4 separate regions of the Homo sapiens genome follow, and regions 1, 3 and 4 are each linked to region 2. Evidence: promoter capture Hi-C in 16 types of primary human blood cells and fetal thymus (Javierre and others, 2016). All regions are on one chromosome and are shown on one strand. The core of a region is centred on a gene start or on the middle of the fragment in contact, and the rest is flanking DNA. Distances in the headings are between cores, read along the strand shown.

What was found. Contacts are between HindIII fragments. The CHiCAGO score rates a contact against its expected background, and 5 or more counts as called.
Region 1: a fragment that was not itself captured here is called in contact with the fragment with the promoter of EPM2AIP1 in region 2 in 6 of 17 cell types (M2 macrophages, M0 macrophages, M1 macrophages and 3 more); the score reaches 15.7 in M2 macrophages.
Region 3: a fragment that was not itself captured here is called in contact with the fragment with the promoter of EPM2AIP1 in region 2 in 5 of 17 cell types (M2 macrophages, M1 macrophages, M0 macrophages and 2 more); the score reaches 13.6 in M2 macrophages.
Region 4: a fragment that was not itself captured here is called in contact with the fragment with the promoter of EPM2AIP1 in region 2 in 12 of 17 cell types (M2 macrophages, M1 macrophages, M0 macrophages and 9 more); the score reaches 34.7 in M2 macrophages.

The regions. Positions count from the first base shown.
Region 1 is chr3:33,659,221-33,662,246 of GRCh38, forward strand. The region is part of intron 7 of CLASP2 (cytoplasmic linker associated protein 2); the gene reads right to left. Among named protein-coding and RNA genes, the nearest start is that of CLASP2, 58 kb to the right of the region's middle. RefSeq lists an enhancer at 147-196. The HindIII fragment of the contact is 1,973 bases long and covers 462-2,434 here.
Region 2 is chr3:36,991,832-36,995,059 of GRCh38, forward strand. EPM2AIP1 (EPM2A interacting protein 1) reads right to left here and starts at 1,300. Exons shown (of 1, transcript NM_014805.4): 1 at 1-1,300. The coding sequence starts at 1,246. MLH1 (mutL homolog 1) reads left to right here and starts at 1,687. Exons shown (of 19, transcript NM_000249.4): 1 at 1,687-1,832. The coding sequence starts at 1,717. RefSeq lists enhancers at 471-550, 581-900, 1,021-1,370, 1,741-1,960, 1,877-2,388. The HindIII fragment of the contact is 4,668 bases long and covers 1-2,171 here.
Region 3 is chr3:33,817,090-33,820,617 of GRCh38, forward strand. All of the region lies in intron 3 of PDCD6IP (programmed cell death 6 interacting protein), which reads left to right. Among named protein-coding and RNA genes, the nearest start is that of PDCD6IP, 20 kb to the left of the region's middle. The HindIII fragment of the contact is 5,968 bases long and covers 1-3,528 here.
Region 4 is chr3:33,800,163-33,803,350 of GRCh38, forward strand. All of the region lies in intron 1 of PDCD6IP (programmed cell death 6 interacting protein), which reads left to right. Among named protein-coding and RNA genes, the nearest start is that of PDCD6IP, 3.1 kb to the left of the region's middle. The HindIII fragment of the contact is 732 bases long and covers 960-1,691 here.

The DNA of each region.
Region 1 (3,026 bases), core at 198-2,697, 3.3 Mb before region 2:
GGACTTGATTAAGATTACTCTTTAGCTGCACATATGCTGTTGGATACAGGTTATGATGTTTCTCCTTGTACTGGCTGCCTGAAATTTAATCTAAGAAAAGCTCTGAGAGCCAATAAATGCCATCCCGCTGGGGGACTTTTAATGCAATCATCAAAACACAAGGCATGTGTTCAGCAATCATTTTCTGCTTCCCTAAAGATATCCATGTAATCAGTAGCAATCACATGATCTGATGGATTAACTGATTTGCGCCTTTTTAAAAAGGTTTTCATCCTTTTGTCGTTACCTTTTAATATTTACAACAGAAGATTGCTAGAAGTGCATAAACAGGAATAGCCCAGTTTCCATGATTAACTGCTCTCATTATGCAGGAAGCATTTCTGGCTGCCGTAAACAAATCACGTCAAAGGCAGCCCATCAAAGGCTGCTCTGTGCGCGGACAGCAGGGCCACACGGAACAAAGCTTACTTCTGGTGGAGACAGAACCTAGCCAATGCGCAGCTGCAGGGGCGCAGAGCACCCTCTATCCAAGCTGACAACCATCAGCACATTGTCAAGCTCTGAAGGCAGGCCCTGGAGCTCATGATCACAAACAGATACATTTTAAAAATCAACCAAAGAAAAGAGCTGCTTTGCTTTTCACCAAAGGGTATGTTATAAAAATATACAAAACTAGACTGGAAGTTATCTTATTGACTCATAGAAGCCAAATATTAAGGTAATTTCAAAGCCTCATTTCCAGGTTTTATTTTATTGCCAGCCTCCAAGAACAATTCTTTTCCTAGCAACTGTTTCAAACAGAGAAGCCAGAAAATACTTTACTAATGATTGCATGGCCAAGACTGCATTAGGTCCTAAACACACACTCGACAAATAAGAATTATGCATAGTTTTTTTCACAGTGAAAGAGAAAAGGATTTGCAATTACAGCCACCAACACTGTTAGTGTTTACATCCTTGGTTTGTGCAGGAGACTGTCTAGAAAGCTCCATAACGACACCAGCGCCTGCCATAATCGCAGGGGGTCTCCAACTTTCAGTCTTTTCTTTCCTACAGGGCTGGTGTTCCCTCCTTCTAGTCACGATCTGACAGATTTTAAATCCAGTTTTCTTCTAACAGCAGAGCTAATTCTACTGCATTTAGGGACTCTGCCTAACTTACTTTTACAATATAACAAGTTGAGTTCAAAAAACCATCAAATACTCTATAACTCACTTAATGACTGTTCAGATGACAACTTTTAGCTATAAAAAAGTTATATCACCTTTACAACAAATCCTTTGGTTTCTTGTATTTAGTAAAATGATTTTTTTCATCACGAAACACTCTAAATCAATATGCTGTAAGATGTATGATGTGTCATTATTATGGTTTCAGGCAAAGACACACCAAAAAATTTTGTTTACCATAATAGTTTCTGGTCACAGAATATCAGGTGGAACAAATTTGAATTGCGTGCCATTTTTGGACAGACCCAAAACAATTTATTTTGCATAAATGCACCAAGTGAGGGAGAGAAAAGGTAGTATCTTCAACAGCTCTTTGTGTGCATGAACTATTTCCACAAGATTTCATGCCGAGCCTTTACTCTGTCCTAAAATGTTTTCCTGTTTCTATCACTTTATTTACAGTTTTAGTTTTAGTTTTAGTGTGCAATAAAAATGAATCAACAAAGGCCTGAAAATTTTGTGGGGAAAAATTGTGCAGAAATAAAGAAGAAGTTGAATTAAACTCCATGATATTACTTCATGTACAATTTCCCTTCAAATTGTTACTTATAAAAATTTGTTTTCAGTATTCAATTGATATATTTTTCTACCTGGGAAAACTACTCAAGTATCATGGGCTGGGATGAAACACACCGTAATTTTTCTCATTAACACTGGTGAAAATAATTTTTTCATCTAATGGTCTTTCACTTGGCAGCAGGGTATTTAGGAATAATTTAAACTCATTAAACAAGGAGTAGTTATATTTCCTCCATTACCAACTGTAACCACATTGTATATCCATTTATTTACTTGTTTATGATCTATCTCCATCACTAGATTATAGGCTCCTTAAGGGGAGAAATTTCATTATCTTCTTCCTGTTGTGACATGATCTAATTTACATTTTAAGAAGATCCCTATGATTTCTGAGTAGCAAATGGATTCCTGGGGGCAAACATGGAACAGAAGTCTACAGAAGTAGTCCAGGCAAAAGCTAAAGGAGATTTAGAGAGGATATTAGCAGTGGAGATGGAAAAAATAAGCAAATTTGGGATATGTTAGTATTTCAGAAGTAGAAATGTTTGATCAGTTAGAATAGGAAATCAAGTCAGGTTTCTAGCTTGAGCTGATGATGGTGCCACTGACTAAAATGGCTAAGACTGGAGAAGGAACAGATCTGAGAGGCAAGAAAAGATAACAGGGTTTCATTTTTGGACATAGGAAGCTTGAAATGCCTATTAGGCAGCCAAATGGGAACGTCATCAAGGCCACAGGCTAACAAGTCTAGACCTAACCCAAAGGAGAGATGAATGATGGCTAGACCTACATACTGGGAATCATTAGCAAAGAGTTATCATTTAAAGCCTTTGAGTGGGGTTGGATCACTAAGAAAGAGAGAATAAAAACAGGGAAGAGGAGGCCTGGGCCCTGGGATTTTCCAACGTGATAAATAGGTTTCCTTCTTCTAGCATCCTCTTGTTAATTAATTCATTAAGGAATTTTTCAGTGACAGCATATTATCATCAAAAACATTATGACCAATATGACTTTAACTTTCACATTTGACCATACTTGCAATATTCAGACTGTAATCATCAATGCAAACAATCTTTGAAGTCTTCTTCAAAAAAAATAAATGCCAGAGACTAACTCCGAACCTCCCTGTTTATGGAGTGATAAACAAGAGAAAAAGTAATGGGAACTAAAGAAACAAAAAAGCTCTATTTTGAAGGTAACAGAAATAATGTCACAAAATACAAGAATAACAGTGCTTTCGAAATAAACCATACCCAAGCAATGAATACCTTAGATTTT
Region 2 (3,228 bases), core at 50-2,549:
CGAAAGTACAAATATGGTCAAAGGCAGCAGCAGCAAAGACTTTACTAACTCGTAATTCTTCACTGAGTTCTCGAAGGTGTTCCATAATGTCCACCAAGAAGCCAAAGTCACAAAGCCATTGTTTGTCTGAGAAGTGGACTGTTGTTGCCCCTACTGAAACCAAGAACGCTTCCATTTCTTTTCTTAGAGAGAATATTAGTTTTAAAGTTTTCCCTCTCCTAAGCCAATTGTTCAGACATCGTCCATTAACCCTTTCACCATGCTCTGATTCAGATTCCGTTAGTAAAGTCTGAAATTCAGGTCGCCTAACGCCTCTGGTCTTAATCAAAACTATCCATTCGGATATGGTATTTATGATCTGATTAACATCTACATCATAGGAGCTCAACAGTTCCAAGTGAAGAAATCCTGAATAATGAATGACATTCCAACAGTTGGGGCTTACGGCCTTTTCTCTCATGTATGAGACGAGTCCTGAGTTCTCACCAATCATCCTCAAAGTATGGGTCGTGGTCAGTCCAACCATTCTCTGCAAGCTAAGCCCTGCTGTCTGCAGGGACTCTAGGATTGCCGACATGAGCGCACCAACACTGAAATGATGAGTCAGGTTGATTATGGTCAGAAGATCTTCTTGCACCTCCAACTCAGGGCCTACACCGCGGATAAAGACCAGGAGGTAGTTCTCATAGGCCACAAAAGCCTGGTCGTCCAAGGCAAGAGAATAGGCTTTAAAGTCCCTGGCTCGGTTAAAAAGCTGGTTGCGTAGATTCCTGTCAATGCTCAGGATCCTCTGCCTTGTGATATCTGGAGATAAGTCAACGCCTTGCAGGACGCTTACATGCTCGGGCAGTACCTCTCTCAGCAACACCTCCATGCACTGGTATACAAAGTCCCCCTCACCCCAGCCGCGACCCTTCAAGGCCAAGAGGCGGCAGAGCCCGAGGCCTGCACGAGCAGCTCTCTCTTCAGGAGTGAAGGAGGCCACGGGCAAGTCGCCCTGACGCAGACGCTCCACCAGGGCCGCGCGCTCGCCGTCCGCCACATACCGCTCGTAGTATTCGTGCTCAGCCTCGTAGTGGCGCCTGACGTCGCGTTCGCGGGTAGCTACGATGAGGCGGCGACAGACCAGGCACAGGGCCCCATCGCCCTCCGGAGGCTCCACCACCAAATAACGCTGGGTCCACTCGGGCCGGAAAACTAGAGCCTCGTCGACTTCCATCTTGCTTCTTTTGGGCGTCATCCACATTCTGCGGGAGGCCACAAGAGCAGGGCCAACGTTAGAAAGGCCGCAAGGGGAGAGGAGGAGCCTGAGAAGCGCCAAGCACCTCCTCCGCTCTGCGCCAGATCACCTCAGCAGAGGCACACAAGCCCGGTTCCGGCATCTCTGCTCCTATTGGCTGGATATTTCGTATTCCCCGAGCTCCTAAAAACGAACCAATAGGAAGAGCGGACAGCGATCTCTAACGCGCAAGCGCATATCCTTCTAGGTAGCGGGCAGTAGCCGCTTCAGGGAGGGACGAAGAGACCCAGCAACCCACAGAGTTGAGAAATTTGACTGGCATTCAAGCTGTCCAATCAATAGCTGCCGCTGAAGGGTGGGGCTGGATGGCGTAAGCTACAGCTGAAGGAAGAACGTGAGCACGAGGCACTGAGGTGATTGGCTGAAGGCACTTCCGTTGAGCATCTAGACGTTTCCTTGGCTCTTCTGGCGCCAAAATGTCGTTCGTGGCAGGGGTTATTCGGCGGCTGGACGAGACAGTGGTGAACCGCATCGCGGCGGGGGAAGTTATCCAGCGGCCAGCTAATGCTATCAAAGAGATGATTGAGAACTGGTACGGAGGGAGTCGAGCCGGGCTCACTTAAGGGCTACGACTTAACGGGCCGCGTCACTCAATGGCGCGGACACGCCTCTTTGCCCGGGCAGAGGCATGTACAGCGCATGCCCACAACGGCGGAGGCCGCCGGGTTCCCTGACGTGCCAGTCAGGCCTTCTCCTTTTCCGCAGACCGTGTGTTTCTTTACCGCTCTCCCCCGAGACCTTTTAAGGGTTGTTTGGAGTGTAAGTGGAGGAATATACGTAGTGTTGTCTTAATGGTACCGTTAACTAAGTAAGGAAGCCACTTAATTTAAAATTATGTATGCAGAACATGCGAAGTTAAAAGATGTATAAAAGCTTAAGATGGGGAGAAAAACCTTTTTTCAGAGGGTACTGTGTTACTGTTTTCTTGCTTTTCATTCATTCCAGAAATCATCTGTTCACATCCAAAGGCACAATTCATTTTGAGTTTCTTTCAAAACAAATCGTTTGTAGTTTTAGGACAGGCTGATGCACTTTGGGCTTGACTTCTGATTACCCTATTGTTAAATTAGTGACCCCTCTTAGTGTTTTCCTGTCCTTTATTTCGGAGGACGCACTTCGAAGATACCAGATTTTATGGGTCATCCTTGGATTTTGAAGCTTATAACTGTGACAAAAAATGTGAAGGGAAGAGATTTGAAACATGTGGAAGGAAAAGTGAGTGCAGACTATAAACTTCCAAAAAGACAAGCCCAAAATACACCTAAACGTTATGTCAGATTATTTTGTTAAAATCAGTTGTTAGTGACGTCCGTACGTTAATAGAAAAAAGAATGCTTCAGTTTGGAGTGGTAGGTTTCTAGAGGGATTTATTGTGAAAGTATAAACTATTCAGGGCAATGGGACTGAGAGAACAGTGGGTAGAAAGGACCACTGAAGGAAAGGAAGAGAATTGGAAGGTAGATGAAAGAAGGAGCAAGAACCTGGGGATGTTTTTTCCTTTTCACTTGTAATAGTAGTAACAGAAGCAATGGCAGACTGGCTTTTGTTTCTACTGTGTTAGAATGAATTGACAGGACAACTGGGCCTATTATTGTACTGTGCCAGAATACTGTAAAACAAAACTAAACATACTAGCTTGGTGGCTTGTAATTAATTACTTAAGTGGAGATTTTTATTTTTTTTTTATTTTTTTTTTAGACGGAGTCTCACTTTGTCACCCAGGCTGGAGTGCAGTGGCGCGATCTCAGCTGACTGCAACCTCCTCCTCACAGGTTCAAGGGAGATTCTCCTGCCTCAGCCTCCCGAGTAGCTAGGACTATAGGCATGTGCCACCACACCTGGCTAATTTTGTATTTTTAGTAGAGATGGGATTTCTCCATGTTGGTCAGGCTGGTGTCAAAACTCTCGATCTCAGGTGAACCGCCTGC
Region 3 (3,528 bases), core at 640-3,139, 3.2 Mb before region 2:
GTATTTGTTGATATGTAAAGTTATATCAATGGAATATTGAATAAAAGGCCTGCCTTAGTTCAGAGTTGTTGCATTGTACAACTCTAGGGTCCCCGGAATTGGGCTCCTTGGGACACTCCTCATACAGAACTCAGAGTAATTCCTCCTCCCTCGAGTTGTGCACTCCAGGCAACTCGAGTGTGGTATAGTATCCACTTTGTGAAAAGTTATGTGTGTGAATGTTTATGTAGTTATTTGTGAGATACCAAAAAATAAATTCTGGTTAACTCTGGAAGATGAGATGTTGGGTGATTTTTAATTATTTTTTTGTAGTTTAGAAAAATTGTTTGAATTTTAGAAAGCTGTTATTTTCATGAGTTATTTTCGTTTTGAAAAACTTAGAGGCTGGAAGTGGTGGCTCGTGCCTGTAATCCCAGTACTTGGGGAGGCCAAGACAGGTGGATCACTTGAGCCCAGGAGTACAAGACCAGCTTGGGGAACAGACGAAACTCTGTCTCTACAAAAAATAAAAAAATTAGCCAGACATGGTGGTGTGTGCCTGTAGTCCTAGCTGTTTAGGGGGTTGAGGTGAGAGGATTGCTTGAGCCTGGGAGGTTGAGGCTGCAATAAGCCATGATCACGCCACTGTACTTCAGCCTGGGTGACAGAGTGACACCTTGTCTCAAAAGAAAAAAAAAAGATAAAAGAAAAACTTAAAAGAGAGCAAGTAAGAAACAAGAATACAGTTAAATACTTAGAAAGGCATCTTTGAAAAAAAGGAAAATTAAATATTGTTTTGAAAACCTGGTTTAAGTTTAGATGGATAGAAAAAAATAAAGGAAAAAAAGATAAAATAGCTCTTATATGTAAAATCTCATAAAAGCTCTTATACATGACAAATTGTCAAAATAAAATGAGAGACTACAGTCTGGTATGATAATATTTATGGGCAACATAATAGACTGAGATATGTATCCAATATATAAACAGTTTACTTTTATTTCTTGTTTGGAATATATTTCATTCTTGTTTTTTTTTTTTTTTTTTTTTTTTGGAGAACAGTCTTGCTCTGTTGCCCAGGGTGGATGGAGGGCAGTGGCATGATCTCGGCTTACTGCAACCTCTGCCTCTGAGGTTCAAGTGATTCTCGTGCCACAGCCTCCTGAGTAGCTGGGATTACAAGCATGCACCACCACGCCTGGCGAATTTTTGTATTTTTAGTAGAGACGGGGTTTCACCATGTTGGCCAGGCTGGTCTCGAACTCCTGACCTCAAGAGCTCCGCCCACCTTGCCTTCCCAAAGTGCTGGGATTACAGGTGTGAGCCACCACGCCTGGCTGATATTTAATTTTGTTCCTTGCTCTCTCCTGCCACACTGGCCTAATGTATATATTTATTGAATTAATTAAAATTATATTCAGAACTTGAAGATATTGATCCCTTGCTTTTTTTTTTTTTTTTTTTTTTTTGATAGGGAGTCTCACTCTGACGCTAGGCTGGAGTGCAGTGGCACGATCTCGGCTCACTGCAACCTCCGCCTCCAAGGTTCAAGCGATTATCCTGCGTCAGCTTTCCGAGTAGCTGGGACTACAGGTGTGCGCCACCACGTCCAGCTAATTTTTGTACTTTTAATAGAGACAGGGTTTCACCATGTTGGCCAGAATGGTCTTGTTCTCTTGACCTCGTGATCTGTCCGCCTCAGCCTCCCAAAGTGCTGAGATTACAGGCGTGAGCCACTGCACCTGGCCAATCCCTTGCCTTTTAGTATCTAGTGTTACTGATGAAAAGTCTGATTTTTGTTATTTTATAAGTGATCTGTTTCTTTGCTCTTGGGAATATTTTTACAGTCTTCTCTTTATCTTTCATGTTTAGAAATCTCAAAAGACTTAATGGGATTTCATTTTATTCGTGTGTAGGGCATTTCTTTTTGGCCCTTTTAGTTTGAACACTTATATCTCCCTTAAGCTCTGGGAAGTTTTCTTATATTTCTTTGATAATTTTCTTGTCTCTTTTGTCTCTCTTTCTTTGGAATACTTTATTAGATGTTGGTTGTTCTGAGTTGTTCACTCGTAATTTTTATATTTTTTCTTGACTTTCTGTTCTTTCTGAGATTGCCTAGATATTAATTTTAAAACTTGAAAAAAAATTTTTTTTCCTTCCTCCGCCCTTAAAACTTTTGAAAAAAATTTAACAATCAAGTTTTTAATTTTTAGGAGCTTTGTCTTATTAATTTAAAAAATCCTTTTCTTTTATGGATGTACTGTCTTTGAATCTCTTTAAGGAATGCTAATTGTGATATTTGGAATATAATCTTTTATGACTGGAATTGTCTTTATTTATTTTGGGCTTAGTTTTTCAGTTCGCATTGCTCTTCCTTTATTTTGCTGCAGGCTTTTTTCACAACCTGGTTATTTTGGATTTTCCATATGTTTAATAAAGTAGGTTAGAGTAGCTGGTGTTTATGTCTGCTTTAGTTTAGAATGAGGAGACTAGAACTGGTTTGGAAGCAAGTTGAAAACTGGCCTTTATTACCTAGGAGGCCACCAAAGTACTGTAACAAGGAGGGCTTTACTTTATGGTACAACTCTGTGGCACAAACATACAAATGTAGTGTTGTTCTGATTCTCCTAGATTGGTTTGTTCAGTGTTTTTTGTAAGGAGCCTTATTTTGCCTAGTGGTCAATGCCTTGCACATTATGCAAGATCTTGAATTCCAAACTGATTGAATTCTGTGAGTAATAGGGAGCTATTGTAGATTCTTTTTTAAAAGTTATTTTTCAATTGTGATACAATATACACAATATGCCTTCTTAACCATTTTAAGTGTACACTTCAGTGGTATTAAGTACATTTACATTATTGTGCAAACATCATCTCGAGAACTCTTTTTCATCTTACAAAACAAACTCTGCCCAGTAAATGATAACTTCACAGACTGGGGGCGGTGGCTTATGCCTGTAATCCCAGCATTTTGGGAGGCCGAGGTGGGAGGATTGCTTGAACCAACGAGTTCAAGACCAGCCTAGGCAACATAGTGAGTCCCTGTCTCTACAAAAGATACAAAAATTAGCCGGGTATGGTGGCCTGTGCCTGTAGTCCCAGCTACTCAGGAGGCTGAGGCAGGAGGATTGATTGAGTCCAAGAGGTAGAGGCTGCAATGGGTGTGATTGCACTAGTGCACTCCAGCCTGGGTGAGAGAATGAGACCCTGTCTCAAAAGAAAAAAACAATTATAATGTCCCATTCTTCCCTCCCCCCTCAACCCTTGGCAACTAGCATTCTTTCAGTCTCTGAATTAAACTGTAGGTACCTCATACAAGTAGAGTCGTAGACTGCATTTAAAAAAAATTTCACAACATGAAATTTATTATCTTAATCATTTTTAAGTATACAGTTCACTAGTGTTGGGTGTATTTCATATTGTTGTAAAATACATCTCCAGAACTTTTTCATCTAGCAAATCTGAAATATTGTACTAATTGAACAACAATCCCCCTCCCCCTACCACCATCCCTGATAACCATCATTCTGATTTCTGTCTCTATGAATT
Region 4 (3,188 bases), core at 76-2,575, 3.2 Mb before region 2:
AACTGAAAAGTCTAGGGATATTCCTTCCTTAGCTTTAGGTATCACTGGAGATCGTCTTGCCTCCGTGATGCTTCCCTCGAAAGCTTTGTTCATGTATTGAGAGGGATGGCTGTAGTGTAATAACAATCGTCCGCAACACTCAGTATCTTACAGAAGGGAGTGCTTTTCTCCTTAGCTCTGGTGGAAGTCCATGGGAGGCTCCTGGGTTTGTTTGCACCCATTTATGATGGTGGGAAATGGGCTAAGTTAATTGCCCTTATCTGAGTCATCCAGCCGGTTTAATTTCTCCTTACCCCATGGATCAAAGCAAGATGAGTCCGGACTGGGGAAGGGTTGGTTCTCCGAAGGAAGGGGTACTGAATAGATTGCTCAGAGGAATTAAGACCCCTTGGTGTCAAATTTTAGAGCTACAACTGTTGGGCTGCAAGGATCATTAGTCTAATAGCATAAGCATTTTTTTTAAAGTTAACCTAGAAATACTTAGCCATTCTTTAGAATTAACATAATTAAACAATTTCAAGGTAATTTTTATGTAGGCATGAATAGCATTCAGTGAGGATTTTCCATTAGTAATATTAAGAAAACATAGTTGTGGTATAATGAGCCCTGTGATAAAAATCTTGTTGAATATATCAAATTTGGTTCCAGCCCTCAGATTTGGGGTCTTCAGAAGCACTTGGTGCATGGGTTTTAAGCTAACAGACATGGGAGGTTGGTGGATAATGGTTTGGATACGGTTCTCCTGTCAACTTTAAAACTTAATTCATTTGTTCCTTCCTTTATTCTTTTTACCAGACTTAAATGTGTGAACTGTTCCTAGGTAGTGGACCTGTTGTAGATATAGTCTCTTTGAAACTAACCATGTTTCTTTAGTCACCTCTGTATAATCCCCTCCTGCCACATTAATTCAACAAATATTAAGTATTTTCACTTTTTGGGCTTCTAGAGGGGTTAGGGTAAGCTTGGAGATATTACTAAAGTTTATAATGGAGGTAGGTACAAAAGTTTTGTAGGTATATACGCTGTAAAATTAGATGTGAATCAGTTGTGTGATGTTCATTCAAATCCGGCAGAATATCTTATTTTTAATAATTATGTTTGGATAATTGTGTAAACTTAACATTAATTTTTTAACTTAATGAACTTTTTAAACTAATGAACTTTGAAAAACAGAGTTTAAACTAATTCCTAAATAATTGAAGCCAGCTTGATAAGTCCTGATATGCAGCTCCATATATTGCTCCAGTGATAGACTTGTTTTCTTATTACTAACTTGTAGGTGTTCTATTAAAATTTCCTAAAATATACATTTATGCATATTATAATAATGAGAATGAGTACTTAAAAACTCATTTGTTCTGGGTGTGGTAGCATGCACTCATAATTCCAGCTGAGGCAGAAGGATCACTAGAGCCCACGAGTTGGAGACCAGCCTGAACTACATACTGAGACGCTGTCTCAAAACAAAACAAAACAACAACAACAAAAAACCCTTTTATATGATACTTCTTCCTTTATAAAGTGGCTTTTACTAAAAATTGATTAGACCTTGGTAAATGGTGACCTAGGGTGATCAAATGGGAACCCTGCTGGTTTTTTATTTTTATTTTGTATTTTATTTGAAGCTCCAGATATACCATTTACCAGCATTGTGTAATTTCTTTTGTGGTGATCAGTTTCTTTAGAGAGAAAGCTTCTAGTCTTCCATGAAAAAGTCTGCTTATCAGCTTTCTAAATTTTATCCTGGGGAATGGAGGTTGGGGATCTTAACAATCATGTATGCAGTCTATCAGGTACATCTATTTTTAGTATGACACCTGCATTAGGGTTAGGTTCATTTCTGTGTGGTAGATCCCAAATTATCTGAGTTAAGATTTTATTTTGTAAAAAGTTGGCAGGTAGGTAGTTCTGGTAGCCCAGGGCTGGTGTAGTGTTTCTGTGGAGTTAATTGGGGCTCAGATTCCTTTCAGCTTTCTGCTGTTTGAAACCTAGAATATTGTTCTCAGGTCCAGGTTGCAATCATATCCAAGTTCCAGGTAGTAGGATGGAGAAAGGCACGGGGCTCGCCCTTTAGGGTGTTTCCTGGCAACTGTTCCACAACACCCTGCCTATATGTTACCGGCCATTTTGTGTGTCCTTCTGATAGGATGCTAGGAAAAGGAATTTTCATTATGAGCAGCTGTATACTCAGCTAAAGGGACACAGTTTTGTTAATAAGGAATAGGATAGACTGATAATGATGTAGTCAATTAGCACTCCCTACCCCACTTAGCAGTGCTTGATCTCCACCTTAGTTATATTTGATATCTCTGACATTTTTTTCTTTTTTCTTTTTTTTTTTTTTGAGGTGGAGTTTTGCTCTTGTTACCCAGGCTGGAGTGCAGTGGCATGATCTCGGCTCACCACAACCTCCGCCTCTCGGGTTCAAACGATTCTCCTGCCTCAGCCTCCTGAGTAGCTGGGATTTACAGGCATGAACCACTCTGCCTGGCTAATTTTGTATTTTTGGTAGAGACGGGCTTTCTCCATGTTGGTCAGGCTGGTCTGGAACTCCTGACCTCGGGTGATCCACCCGCCTCGGCCTCCCAAAGTGCTGGGATTACAGGCGTGAGCCACTGTGCCCGGCCAATCTCTGACGTTTTTTTGAGAGTGAACCTACCTTCAGAGTAGAGGATCTGGGAGCCTGAAGTTTTCTTTGAAGGATTTTCAACCATACCTTCTCGTTCCAGCCTCACATTGAACTACCTTCAGAGGTACCTCATGTTTCTTAATTCAGATCCTTTTCTGGCTTCTCTGGCATGATTTGGCTTCTGCTTTGGCTCCCTTCCCTCTTAGCCAGTTAGATTTTGGCTTTCTCTTTTTCATTCACTTTTCACCTTTTAGTAAATTTTGTTGAAACCTCTTATATCCTGTGTGTCATTTCCCGTTCTTTTTGTCCATGTTCATGTACATCTTTTACATTTTTAAATTCTTGTTTTAGTGGGTTTTGGCGGGGAGCAAAGAAGGATGTTTATTCAGATTTATTTGTTTAACTGTAAGAGGAACTTGTTTGCATTTTCAGCTCTCCACAGTGCTTGTAACAATTTACATTCTCATCAGCAGGTATATGGGAGTACTTTATTCTTCCATATCCTTGCTAATACGTACTGATTAATAATTTAATTTATTGCTTTTTGCTAAACTGATGG